2 separate regions of the Homo sapiens genome follow, and region 2 is linked to region 1. Evidence: promoter capture Hi-C in 16 types of primary human blood cells and fetal thymus (Javierre and others, 2016). All regions are on one chromosome and are shown on one strand. The core of a region is centred on a gene start or on the middle of the fragment in contact, and the rest is flanking DNA. Distances in the headings are between cores, read along the strand shown.

Region 1 (6,823 bases), core at 2,802-5,301:
GAATATTCCTCATTTGGGGTTTGCCTGATGTTTTCTCATGATTAGGCTAAGGCTACACATTTTTTGGAAGACTACCAGAGGTCAAGCTTTCTTCTGGTAGTACTCTATCAAGAGGTACATGACATTAACATGACTTATTACTGTTTATGTTAACCGTGTTCACTTGGTCAAAGTAGTGTTTTCCAGGTTTCTCCACTGTGAAGTTGCCACTTTAACCTTTCCATCTTTATTAGATCCAAACCACCAAGTCCAGCCCAAAGTCAGAGGAAAATTAAGCTCCACTTCCCAGAAGGAGGGGTACTAAAGAATCCAGGCATACGTTAAACTACCACAGCAATTAATAAACATTTTAGACAAGATGTTTGGAGAATATGTAGACATCCTATGTCCTCCTAAGTTTTACCTGCTAACTTTAGCATTTGTCGGTGGATATCGCCTGCAGCAATTACTGCATTTAAATGGTGATCTTCTATTTCTCTTATTACTTTTGCCTTTGTTATTCTCAACTTTTCTGTAGGGAAGACTTGTCCCATCTTTTCCATCTATTTACTTGTATCATATAGTCTCAGATATTTATTTCATTCCTTGGTTATAATCCAATACCACTGTTATTTTGTTGCTCAAATAATGCTAGCTCCAGCCAGGGGGAAGTTTCTCAGGTTGCTTCTGTGTCCTTTTGACGCGGCCCAACTGTTTTGTTTTGCTTTTAAAGCACATCCTTATTTCCTGGCACTGGCTCCAGGTTCCTTCTGTATTTTCCTTAACCTAGCCCTGAAATCAGCCACTTCTCCAAGGAATCCTGGTTCCTTTCATTGAGAATGGTATTTAAAAACCAAGATCTGAGTGCTAGGCGCACTTGTTGTCACTGAGGTGTCCCTGTTTCTATGTCCTTTCGGCAGACAGATTCAGGAAACACATATATGTATATTAACTTATGCATATGCACATACCTATATTTATTTTTATATCTATTACAATAACTTGAAGCTCATACTGATGTTTCCAAATCTAATCAAGCACCACATATTTTCCTCCAGGCATCTCCTCTTGCTCATTTGTAACTTCCTTCTCTGACAGTGAGCAACCTGCTTCCCACCATCTACAATTTATTTATACACATATTCCACCCTACTATACATGCATAGTTTCAGAATTGCTAACCTGTACCCCGTGAGAAATAAATTTACAATGACAGTACAGTGTTGACGTACAATTCTTTTTTGTATCCATTCAAAATACTTTTCCAAAGTTACTTAGAGGCTTGCATGGTGGCTCACACCTGTAATCCCAGCACTTTGGGAGGCTGAGGCAGGTGGATTACCTGAGGTCAGGAGTTCAAGACCAAACCCCATCTCTACTAAAAATACAAAATTTAGCTGGGCATGGTGGTGTTGCAAACATGTAATCCCAGCTACTCAGGGGGCTGAGGCAGGAAAATCACCTGAACCCAGGAGGCAGAGGCTGCAGCGAGCTGAGATTGTGCCACTACACTCCAGCCTGGGCAACAGAGTGAGACTCTATTTCAAATGTTAAACTACCATAGCAATTAATAAACATTTCAGACAAGATGTTTGGAGAATATATGGACATCCTACCTCCTCTTAAGTTTTACTTGCTAACTTTAGCATTCAAGTCAGTGTATTCTGCCTGCAGCAATTACTGCTGCAGGCCAAAAAAAAAAAAAAAAGGTTCTTAGATCAGCCCTTCGGCCCCTCACCCTCTTTAGTGAAGTTACATGTTTATAATATAGTTTAACTGATTTGTCACAGCCTGCATTCCATCCCCAGAAATGCTGGCAGATTTATTAAATGTGCATATAGTCAAGTTTACTCTTTCTGGTGTATAATTCCACGGGCTTCAACAAATGGCTAAGACTCATGCATCCACTACCACAGTATCTTACAGAAAAGTCCTGTCACTCTAAAAAGTCCCCTGGTACAGCTCCTTTGTATTCAACTCCTTCCCTCTTTCCTGACTGCCAATGATTAGGTTTTCACTCCTGTTTTGTCTTTTCCAGAATGGCATTCTTATACATGGAATCATACAATATGTAACTTTTTGAGTCTTGCTTTTTGCACTGGGCAAAATGCAATTTGCTTTGCTTGGGAACCCTGTACCTTCGTAATGAATCATCACATTCAATAGTGTCTCTTGGAATTCGCCCCCCTTTTTCCTTTCCCTCTATTACCCCATTCAGGCTCCTGTTACCTCTTGCTCAGTTTTGTTTAGATCCTATCTGCTTTGATCCACTTTCCGCTGCCTGATTAACCTTCCAGTAGCACACCTATTTCATGTCATTTCCATGCTCCAATAGCTTCAAAGCTTTCCCACTGCCTTCAGGAAAAAGTTCCAACTCAGGCATTCACAGCCATTCAAAATGTGGTCTTAATTCACCCCACTCATCACCACCACACAGGAGCCACTATTCTTATCAGAATAGTGAAGTTTAAAGCCATTCTCTCTACCAACACAATTTCTACCCATCCTTCAAATTCAGTTTAAATGACATTTTCTTATAGACCAACCTCTACATGTTAGCATTCCTCAAATCTTTGCCCTAGGGAACTTCCCTTCTCTCTCCACACTTCTCCCTAGGTGGTCTCATCCAATCTCCTGGCTTTTTATGCTGAGTACTCCCAAATCATGTCTCCATTATGAACTTCTCCTTGGGGTCCAAACTTGTGTATAACTGCTTATCTGATACCTCTAATTATGTGTCTAACAGGAACCTTACCCTTAATATGTCCAAAACATAATTCTCTATGTTGTTCTTTATGTTATTGTTGTTTGCCCCACAAACAACAATATACTATTTTTCCCTGCCCTATCGTCCTCCATCTCAGCCAATGGCACATCATCTACTTTACTGCTCAAGTAAGAAATCTGAGTTACCCTTGACATTTTCCTCTCTACTCTGCCACGCTGAACCATAAGTTAGTTCTCTTAAATGTCCCTTACGTCACCACCCTAATGCAAACTATTACCAATACAATCTCTTGAGCTTCCAAATGTAATACATTTTCTAAAGAGAACCAGGGCCTATTCATGATTCTCACTTGCTTACAAGTCTTCAATGTTTTCTACACATGGTAATAGGAACGGAAATGTTTTCCTATTGTACAGAAAAAAAAATTCCCCATCATGACCTTCAAGGCCCTACAGAACCTAGTTCCACTCTATCCGGCTAACTTTATCTTGTACTCTAACTATACTCCTTCCTAGCTCCCATCTCAGGAACTTAGCCCATTATCGCCTCTGCTTGAAGTACTCCCTGAGCTTCCAAATCTCCGTTTAAAGATCACTTCTTCAGACTCCACTATCTGCCAACTCAGCATCCAGTTCGTTTCCTCCCAGCACTTAGAATCTGCGTACATTCAGGCAAACCGCCTAGCACTGGAGTTGGGGTTTGTGAAGTAGCACAGACAGGCTGATCAGGCCGAGCACGGGCTGGGATTCCGGAGTGAAGCTAGTCCACTCTAACCCGGCACGCAGGGCAACGTGGTGGGAGAGAGGTCGGAGTCCCGCCCTTCTTTTTTTTTTTTTTTTTTTTTTTGAGACGGAGTCTTGCTCTGTCTCCCAGGCTGGAGTGTAGTGGCACGATCTTGGCTCACTGCAAGCTCCGCCTCCCGGGTTCACGCCATTCTCCTGCCTCAGCCTCCCAAGTAGCTGGGACCACAGGCGCCCGCCACCATGCCCGGCTAATTTTTTGTAGTTTTAGTAGAGACGGGGTTTCACCGTGTTAGCCAGGATGGTCTCGATCTCCTGACCTTGTGATCCGCCCGCCTCGGCCTCCCAAAGTGCTGGGATTACAGGCGTGAGCCACCGCGCCCGGCCAGTCCCGCCCTTCTTGCCAGGCTCCAGTCAGTCCCAAACTCCTAGCCCAGAAAGAGGCCAGAGGAGACTGCCCAGTGGACAACAGCCCCGAGAGACCTTCCCGACTTCCAGCGCCCGGCAGGGTGCGAACCCCTCCCAAGAGCGACCGCTGAGCCTGCCACACTCACCGCACACGTGGGACCGAGACAGCTCGCGCAGCGGATCCCGACCGCCTCTCCGCTTCCGCTTCCTTGCCTTGCTCCGCCCCCGGGCCGCTTTTTTTCATCTTCCGCGGCGGATCAGGGACTAAGAGGTGGAGCTTCCCAGAGAATACAAAAATTCGGAATTTCTATTGGTCCGCTGCTGTTATGCCTCCTCTTGAGGCGCGAGGATTTTGGCCCTTGCAAGAATCCGTCGGGCGGAGGACGCGACAACGGCCACGGGAAATGACGTCATTAACCCTGTGGCTTCCGTGCTGGAAAGAGAGGGAGAGCTCTTGCGAGGCAGAACAGGCTGCTGAAGGACAGACCTGGCTGGCGCGGTTAATAAGAGGCCTGCATCCCGTAGCCTGAACAAATATTGAAGTAGCTAAAGTTTCTAAAGTGTGTTAATTTGCATACTTCCTCAGCAGTCCAGCGTGGAGGATAAAAGGGGTATCTTGTGAGTCGATTTGAATTGTAATCCCGTTTTTTTCACTTGCTAGCTGTGTGGCTCTGGGAAAATTACAGTTTTTATGAGCTTTGGCTTCCTGATCAATAAAATAGAAATAATTAAGTGATACGTGCAAAGCGCTTAGCATGGAACGCTCTCAATAAATGTTTGCCATTTTTAGTGTCTGCTCGTGCCTGGAAACTGCTGTTATTCCATTTTATACTTCAGGAAATAAGATTGTGGTTAGGATATATGCCCCATTTTCCAGATGAAGAAACTGACACCACAAACTTGCTCGTGTCAAGCAACAGAATTTTATTCTTTAACTGTTCTAGAGGCAAGAATTCCAAAATCAAGCTGTTGGCAGAGCCCTGCACCTTTTGAAGGCTCTAGGGGAGAATGCTTTGCTTCTTCAGCTTCTAACGGTTCCAGGCGGTCCGTGGCCTCTTGTTGCATGACTCCAATCTCGGCCTGTCTTCTAATGGCCTTCTCCTGTGCCTGTGCCACTTCTCTGTGTGTTTTTAGGACACTGAACATTGAATTTAGAGTCCACGGGGATAATCCAAGATCATCTCATCTGGAGGTCCTTAATCACATCTGCAAAGGCCCTTTTCCCAAATAAGGTCACTTTCACATGTCCTGGGAGTTAGGACATAGACATATCTTTTGGAGACTATTCAACCCACTGCATCTGTAAAGTTGAGGAACTGGCACTTGATCCCTGGTGCCAGACTTCAGATTTTACTGTCTTCCAACTTACTCCGTTTTCTGGCCACTAAGGAGTTAGAGTTGAAACTGGTAATTTAGTAGACTGTATGCTTCTTGATGACAGGGGCCATCATTACTTTCCAGGCACTTATCTCACTATGCAGCACATAGATACTTGATAAGTTCTTGTCGTCTACCTTAACTGTTACTAGTTTACATTTCAGCTCATTTAAATCTCATAAGAACGTTTTAAATAGGTCTTTTCTCATTTTACAGAGAAAGGCAAAACATAGTAGCTTTGGTCCAGTGAGCCTGACTCTAAACTCAACGTGGCTGCCTCCGTACTGCTTTCAATAATTCAGTAAATGCTAAGAGAAGAGAATATGGAACAGGAATTGCAGGAGGCCCATCAGCTGTGCCTTTTGGGCAAATAGCATAGTAGTGGGGATATTAGACACCTTGAAACACCTGACAAGTAAATGCTGGCCAAAAAGAAAGAAAAATCGCAAAATACACCCTATCACACAACCCTGGGAAGGGATACGTTTGTGTTTTCAACTCGACAGACAGCAGCACCCCATATCCTTGAAGATAGGTCCATGCAGTTGCCTTAAGCATCTGCACCAAAACCCTGCTATTCATTTGCCTTTTCACCAGGGAGGAAAAAAAAAATGTTATCACATATCAAAGCCCTTGATTATTATTAAAAACTTTTTTATCAAGTCTTCTGTGAAAGTGGATTGATTTGGATTTTTTTTTTTTTTTTGGAGTGAATTGAAAGCATCGTGTGGTTTTGCAGAACAGCACAAAAAAAGCTTATCCTGTAATTTTTTTTTTTGTCAAGCAAACCCATTAATTCTTCAAATATCTAATGATCTAAATGTAGACCACTAGGTGTACTCCTACAAGCCTAAGATGCTCTTCTTGCGTGATACACAATTTAATCAGAGCAACTAGACTTGCACACATCCAAGAGGTTAATAACAGTACTATAGCAATGCAATGACGAGCATTGAGATTAGAATCAAAGGAACCTGGCTTACAATCTAAATTCTGTATGGCCAAGGACAAGATAGCCAACTTGTATGGGCCTCAGTTTCTGCATATGTAAAATGGGAATAACAACACTTGTTTCTGGAGTTGCTGTGAGGCTTAAAAGTGATAATATCTTAAAGTTCTTAGCCAGTAGTAAATGTTGAGTGATTTGTAGCTTAAGAGAGAACCAAGGTGTACCCATTTGAAATACTTTGGGGCCGGGCGCTGTGGCTCACACCTGTAATCCCAGCAGTTTGGGAGGCCAAGGCAGGTGGATCACCTGAGGCCAGGAATTCGAGGCCAGCCTGGCTAACATGGCCAAACCCCATCTCTACAAAAATACAAAAATTAGCCAGGTGTGGTGGTGCATGCCTGTACTCCCTGCTACTCTGGAGGCTGAAGCATGGAGAATCGCTTGAACTGGAGAGGCGGAGGTGCAGTGAGTGGAGATTGTGCCACTGTACTCCAGCCTGGGCAACAGAGTGAGACTCTGCCTCAAAAAAAAAAAAGAAAAAAAGAAATACGTTTGACTTCACATAACGGAAAGTTCAGCTAATGGTGGCTTAAGCAATCATTTTCTTAACATAAAAATTTGGAAGGTACTTGGTTGTTGTGG
Region 2 (6,823 bases), core at 1,712-4,211, 3.2 Mb after region 1:
AGTTATATTAAAGTGCTTCAAGCAAAATTTAGCAACTCCTGTAAGGCTTCCTGCTGTTCATCATCAAGTTGTGATACACATTCCAACCATAAATCTTCAGAAGTCTGTACCTGACGCACGACATTAGCTAGGCGTTTGGCACAAGGATCCTCATAGTTAATAGTCTCATTAATTTTTCCTTCTGCAATTATACTGATTATTTTGGGAAGATTGGAATTATTTGGACCAATTACAACTGGGTGGTTACTTTCAATTAGGTCACAGAGAAAACTCAAAGTCTGAATAGCTTCCTCTTTATCTTCATGCAGTGGAAGCCATGATAACCAGTGTGGAAGAACTTCATCTACATTTACACAGTTAGGCTTAAACTTCAAAATCTTCCCTATTGCTGAGATACAGTTCTCTGTAGCAATGACATTTTTTTTGGTTTTGGAATTTGCACACTTAATAACTTTTACCAGAAGTGGAACAGCTTCTGAACATAAAGAACGATAATCATCTCCACCAAACTGTGCCATGACACCCAGGCCATAAGCAGCAGCTTGCCTGACTTCAGGGTTGTTATCTCGCATATTTAGTAGCATTGGCCACCGAAAATATTCTACATATTTAAATGAAGTTGGACTGCAGTGCTCTATGATGTCATCAAATATGCACAATCCCCACTGTCTGTCTGGCCATGGCCTACTTGAACAAATTAGATTTACAATTAATGGAAGTAGTTGTTCAAACCATGGTAAAATCTTTTCCTTATAAGTACTAAATAATGAGTGCAAAATATCTGATACTTTGGTCAGAATATAAACATCACATTCATCCTCATCTTGCAGAGACATCTCAACCTGTTGATCATAGTTTTCTTCCTGTCTTTTCACCTGTCTCAATTCTTGGTTTTTAAAGTGCCCTTCAAGTTTTGCTTTCAGTATTCCTCCCAGTTCTTCCAAGTGTTCATCATTAAGGCAACCATCTCCCATAACTTCAATGGACTTTGCAAAAGAATTCATTATTTCTGAGAGCACATCTGTATCTGGTTCAGTACCAATAGCCTTGATTAAGGGGTCACATATGAATTGCCACATCTGTGCAAGATACTCTGGGCCACGAATTCTTGCACATTCCAGGAGAAAAGGCATGGACTCTGCTGCTGCCACTCGAACATTGTCATGGAAATAAAATTTCAGTAAAGGAACCATCAGCTTCACAACTTGTTCTGTATATTCCACAAACCCTTCCCTTAACTCCTTAGCATAGTAAACCAACATTTGGCAAGCAGTTGCTTTTGCTTCAAGTCCTGAAGTTTTAATTCCAAAACTCTGCTGGTCTCCAAGATTTACAAATTGCCAGCCATCATCGTCACTCATATTTTCCACATCCTGTGTGTCTAAGAGAGCAACATCAGGTTTAGCTGAAGCAGTCTTAATAAGAGGCTCGATAACCAGTGGAAGGTACTGTTGAAAATCTTTTCCAAGAATTTTACACATTCTAGCCCATGCTGAAACCATGTAAGAGGTCTGAGGGTCATCATCTTCCATATTATTTAAGTCTGATTGTGTCTTCAACAACAGCTGCATCACATTTGATGCATCTTGCATAAATTTTTCCTTCCCAACAGCAAGACCAATATGGCTAATGCACTCGATAGTTTTTCCTCTCAGAAGCTTGAGTTCCTTCTGAACAGCAAGCTCAACAATGTGCTTTAGTGAGGGCATGAATATATCATAATATGGGACAAATTTTTCTTCTATTGTATCTGCAACTGATGCAATGGTTGTCACAAGTTGTTCCAAAGCCAACTTAGTTCCATTCCGAATCAACTCTTGAAGTTTAATCACCAAGACGGAATGTAGATTTTTCACCATACTATCCACATATAGAACTAGCAATGATTTAGGGCAGTCTTCAATAAAAATAATAAGAGCAGAAGCTGCATGTGATTGCACACGCTGATTACCTTGATTTTCCATGGTACGTAACAGAGCTGCAATCACTGTTTCATGAAATTTCTTTTGGAAATTAGGTGCAAAATCTGTAGCCATCTGTCCAAGTGTAGTACAGGCTGCAGCCCTCACCCTTGGATGAGGATCCTGAAGAAAAAGCAAAACGGAGTTAACTGTTTCATCTAGAATTGATTCCATTTGTTGATGGCATCCTTCTCCAATGGCAGATAAGGCCATTAATCCAGCATGTCGATACTTCCAGTCAGGGCTCTGAAGCATCTGCATGATATGCTCCTTGGTCATTGGTAAAACAACTTTTCCACCAAGCCCACAAGCCAGTCTGTCTAGTGCACTCTCCGCAGCAACTGCATTGCTGTCAAAATCATCTTCTTCCATTTCATCAGCATTTACCCAGTCCTCATCATCTTGTAGATCAACCATCATTGCTAATATATGAGGAACTGCCTGTGCAATAATATTTGTATGTTTTTTCAACATCGGAGTGGCAGTTTCAGACAAGGTCACTATAACTTCGAGGGCCAGCTGGCGCTGCAGATTACTAAGCCTAGAGTCTCCACATAACTTCAAACTCAACTGTAGAGTATCTTCTAAATAAGGACCCAAGTACTTAGGTACGGTATCTGCAATCTCAACAAGGGATTCTAGCACTGAATCATCATCCTGGTAGCATGAGTCATTCACAGCCTGTAAGATTCCAGGAAGCAAGTCTGCAAAGTCTTTGAAAAGAGCAATATTATTCTCATTAGCAAGTACAAATGCAGCTGCAGCTCTAGCGGATAATGTCCTGATTGCTGGATGTTCTTGATCTTGAATACACTGGTCCAACAACCGTTTGATGATATCCAAATCATGCCGCTCTTGGGTCCCAAAAATCCCAGGAAAGTGCCAGAAAACGTGAAGTGCAACTTCCCATAGAACCACATTTTTGGAGTAGATTGAATCAATAAGAAACTTCAGACCTTCCGGCCAGTGGTTAGTGCCATCCTCATCTATCAAATTCCTGGCCAGCACTGCAAAAATATCACAAAGTTTTTTCCTCATGCTAGCATGTGTTTCTAACTTAACAGCCAGAATCAGTTCAATCTTGACATCTCTCTGAACATCAGCAGGCAGATTTGGATAAACCTCCTCAAACCCAGAGGACAAAAGCCGTCGTAGCAGTGCGGCAGCCATTTGTCTCACCTCATAACCTGCTCTTCTATTTCTGACGGCATCTAAGAGGAAGGTAGTCTTACACAGACCTGGGATATTTTCATAGATTTCCTCTGCTTGCCTCCGCACCATACAGCTTGGATTGATCAGGTTCTTCAGAAGCTGGTAAAACTCTTGCTTTTCTGACACGGTCGCCGGCACCCCTGCAGACGCGGTTGCCGCCATTGCGCTCTGTCAAAGCTACCGCGACCGGGAAGGAGGGAGGGGGTCTGCGGCTCGAAGCAGTGACGTAGGCGAGGCGCCGGCGGGGATGGGCGGGGTGCTTCTCCCTCCTCTGCCCAGAAACTCTAGCTGCGCTCTGGCAGGCTGCGAGCTAGGTTTTGGAGAGAGGTGAGAGCCGTGTGGAGGCCAATGGCATCCTCCATTTGTTTTTCAATAAGATAAACGTGCACTTGCAGGCGAGAGAAGAAAAGCATTGATTAGAATGGGATCATGACTTTTTTTTTTTTTGGATACAAGGTCTGGCTGTGTCACCTAGGCTGGAGTATAGCGGCGCGATCCCTGCTCACTGCAGCCTCAACCTCCTGGGCTCAAGCGATCCTCCCCGCCTCAGTTCCCCCAGTAGCTGGGACCACAGGCGCGCGCCACCACGCCCGGCTAATTGTGTTTTTTATAGAGACAGGGTTTCGCCATGTTGCCCAGGCTGGTCTCGAACTCCTGGGCTCAGGTGATCTGCCCGCCTCGGCCTCCCGAAGTACTGGGAATACAGGTGTGAGCCACTGCTTCTGGTCAGATTATGAGTGATTTTTTTCTTTTATTTCTAAACTATATTGTTACTTTGATAATTTTAAAACAATAAGTCTATCTTGAAAACATGCCAAGTGAAAGAAACCAGTCACAACCACATATTGTATGATTCCATTTGTATGAAAGGTACCAAACAGGCAAATTGTATAACAGAAATTAGTGGTTGCCAGAGGTTGGGGGGAGGGGAGGATAGAGAATGACTGCTATCAAATAGGGTGTTTCTTTCTGAGTGATGAAATGTTCTAAAATTAATTGTGATGGTTGCACAATTCTGTGATTATACTAAAAACCATTGAGTTGTTAAATTTAAATTGGTGAATTGTATGGCATATAAATAATACTACAATAAAGCTTTATAAAATAATAAGTGTGATAATAAAATAATAATTACTTCCCCACTACCACATCTAATGCAGTAGAGTGGTAGCTCAAAATCTGGTGTGTGTCAGAATCACCTGGCCTGTTGGTTATAATAAAGAATGGGAAAGACAACTGAGTAAAGTATGGTAGAAAGTGATCTGAACTAATAATCAGAAGACAGACTTGCATCCTGGCCTTGTCACTAAATTAATTTTGTATCCTAGGACAAGTTACTCAAGATTTTCCTTGCATCTTGTCTAAACTGAAATATGAAGGGATGCGGTTAACTAGAATCCTAACTAACCATTAGTGGGAAGCTGCTGAGGTTATTCCAAGAAACAAATGTTGATGAAACTAAATTTGTTTCTTTTTTTTTTTTTTTTTTTTGTGAGATGGAGTCTCGCTCTGTCGCCAGGCTGGAGTGCAGTGGTGCGATCTCAACTCACTGCAACCTCTGCCTCCTGGGTTCAAGCAATTCTCCTGCTTCAGCCTCCTGAGTAGCTGGGACTATGGGCGCATGCCACCACGCCCAGCTAATTTTTGTATTTTAGTAGAGACGGGGTTTCACTATGTTTGGTCAGGATGGTCTCGATCTGTTGACCTCGTGAGAGATCACCCGCCTCGGCCTCCCACAGTACTAGGATTACAGGTGTAAGCAACCGCGCCTGGCCAGTTTGTTTCTTTAATTCAGGCAGGTGTGTCAATCAAAAACAAGTTTCATTCCTATAACAATGATTAGGTCTTACTTTTGTATTAGCACTTGCCACACTCATTTTGACCCTTATACAGAATTGAGAGATTGCTAGGATAGATATAATACTAAATTTAGGTGAGAAGTGGAAACTAAGGGAAGTTACAGGATTTGCCTAGGATGACACACCTGAGTCTCAATTCTACCTCTTCTGAAAGTGACACTGATGCTCTTTTCACCATATTGCTTCCCCATTAACTACTCTTGGTTTTGCAGCATGATCAGAGGCTTCACTTACTGCAAATTCTGTCTTAAACTTTTCCAAGCAGCCTTAATTTTGTTTTTGTAAAGTGCTGCCGCATATACCCACAAAAATTAGAAAGTCGTAGCTTTTACATTAACCAGATGATAGACAAAGTAGGTAGTCTCATAAATTACATTGTAGCCGAGCATGGTGGCTCACACCTGTAATCCCAGCACTTTGGGAGGCTGAGGCAGGCAGATCACGAGATCAAGAGATCAAAACCATTCTGGCCAACACGGTGAAACCCCGTCTCTACTAAAAGTACCAAAATTAGCTGGGCGTGGTGGCACATGCTTGTAGTCCCAGCTACTCGGGAGGCTGAGGCAGGAGAATCGCTTGAACCTGGGAGGCAGAGGTTGCAGTGAGCCGAGATTGCATCACTGCACTCCAGCCTGGCGACACAGCAAGACTCTGTCTCATAAAAAAGACACTGTAATATGAAACAGAGCTATTTTCTAAAATAGAATTTCTCATTCTGTAGACTGAAAACCAACTGCATTAGAATTGCTTGGGATACCTATTTTAAAATATAGATGTTAGGGCCCAAGTTCCTATTAACCCAGAATTCTGGGGGGACTGAGGACTAAGAATGTACAATTTCAACCAGCACATTGGGTTTTTATATAAATACCAACATTTGAGAATCGCTGATAAGATCAATTCTGGTTCTAAGATTATGACTACAGTTGTGCATTCATTGGTTTTCTTTCTTTCTTTGTTTTTTTTTTTTTTTTAGATGGAGTCTCGCTCTGTCACCTAGGCTGGAGGGCAATGGCACGATCTCAGCTCACTGCAACCTCTGCCTCCTGGGTTCAAGCAATTCTCCTGCCTCAGCCTCCTGAGTAGCTGGGATTACAGGCATGCACCACCACACCCAGCTAATTTTTATATTTTTAGTAGACACAGGGTTTCATCATGTTGGCCAGGCCGGTCTCAAACTTCTGACCTCAAGTGATCCACCTGCCTCAGCCTCCTAAAGTACTAGGATTACAGGCATGAGCCACCACACCTGGCCCATTCATTGGTTTTCTTACTGTTCCTTCAAAAAGTCTAACTGGAGGGACTTTGCATTTGCCGTTTCAGGAAATGTTAATAATAATTAATTAATTACTTAATACTATATCCACTAGCATATGAAAGACATTGAAAAAAACCACAGTGATACACCACCACAGACCTACCACAATGCTTTAAAAGTCTGACAAAGCCAAGGGTTGCTGAGGATGTGGAACAACAGGAAACTCAGTTATATTTTTGTTGAGAGTATAGGTAAATTGGTACAACCTCTTTGAAAAAAATGAGCTGGGCGCAGTGGCTCATGCCTGTAATTCCAGCACTTTGGGAGGCTATTGGGAGGCTAAGTTGGGCAGATCACCTGAGGTCAGGAGTTCGAGACCAGCCTGGCCAACATGGTGAAACCTCGTCTCTACTAAAAATACAAAAAATTTAGCTGGACTTGGTGGTGTGCGCATGTAGTCCCAGCTACTCAGGGAGGCTGAGGCAGGAAAATTGCTTGAACCCAGGAGGCGGAGGTTGCAGTAAGCCAAGATC

The links. The method cuts DNA at HindIII sites, captures the fragments that hold promoters and counts their contacts. A CHiCAGO score of 5 or more calls a contact.
Region 2: a fragment that was not itself captured here is called in contact with the fragment with the promoter of PUM3 in region 1 in 1 of 17 cell types (non-activated CD4 T cells); the score reaches 5.4 in non-activated CD4 T cells.

What each region holds. Positions count from the first base shown.
Region 1 is chr9:2,840,044-2,846,866 of GRCh38, forward strand. It overlaps PUM3 (pumilio RNA binding family member 3), which reads right to left and starts at 4,052. Exons shown (of 18, transcript NM_014878.5): 1 at 4,002-4,052. RefSeq lists enhancers at 3,081-3,642, 4,026-4,320, 4,144-4,383. The HindIII fragment of the contact is 3,665 bases long and covers 2,321-5,985 here.
Region 2 is chr9:6,012,273-6,019,095 of GRCh38, forward strand. RANBP6 (RAN binding protein 6) reads right to left here and starts at 3,352. Exons shown (of 1, transcript NM_012416.4): 1 at 1-3,352. The coding sequence starts at 3,335. The coding sequence ends at 18. RefSeq lists an enhancer at 3,171-3,230. The HindIII fragment of the contact is 2,610 bases long and covers 1,657-4,266 here.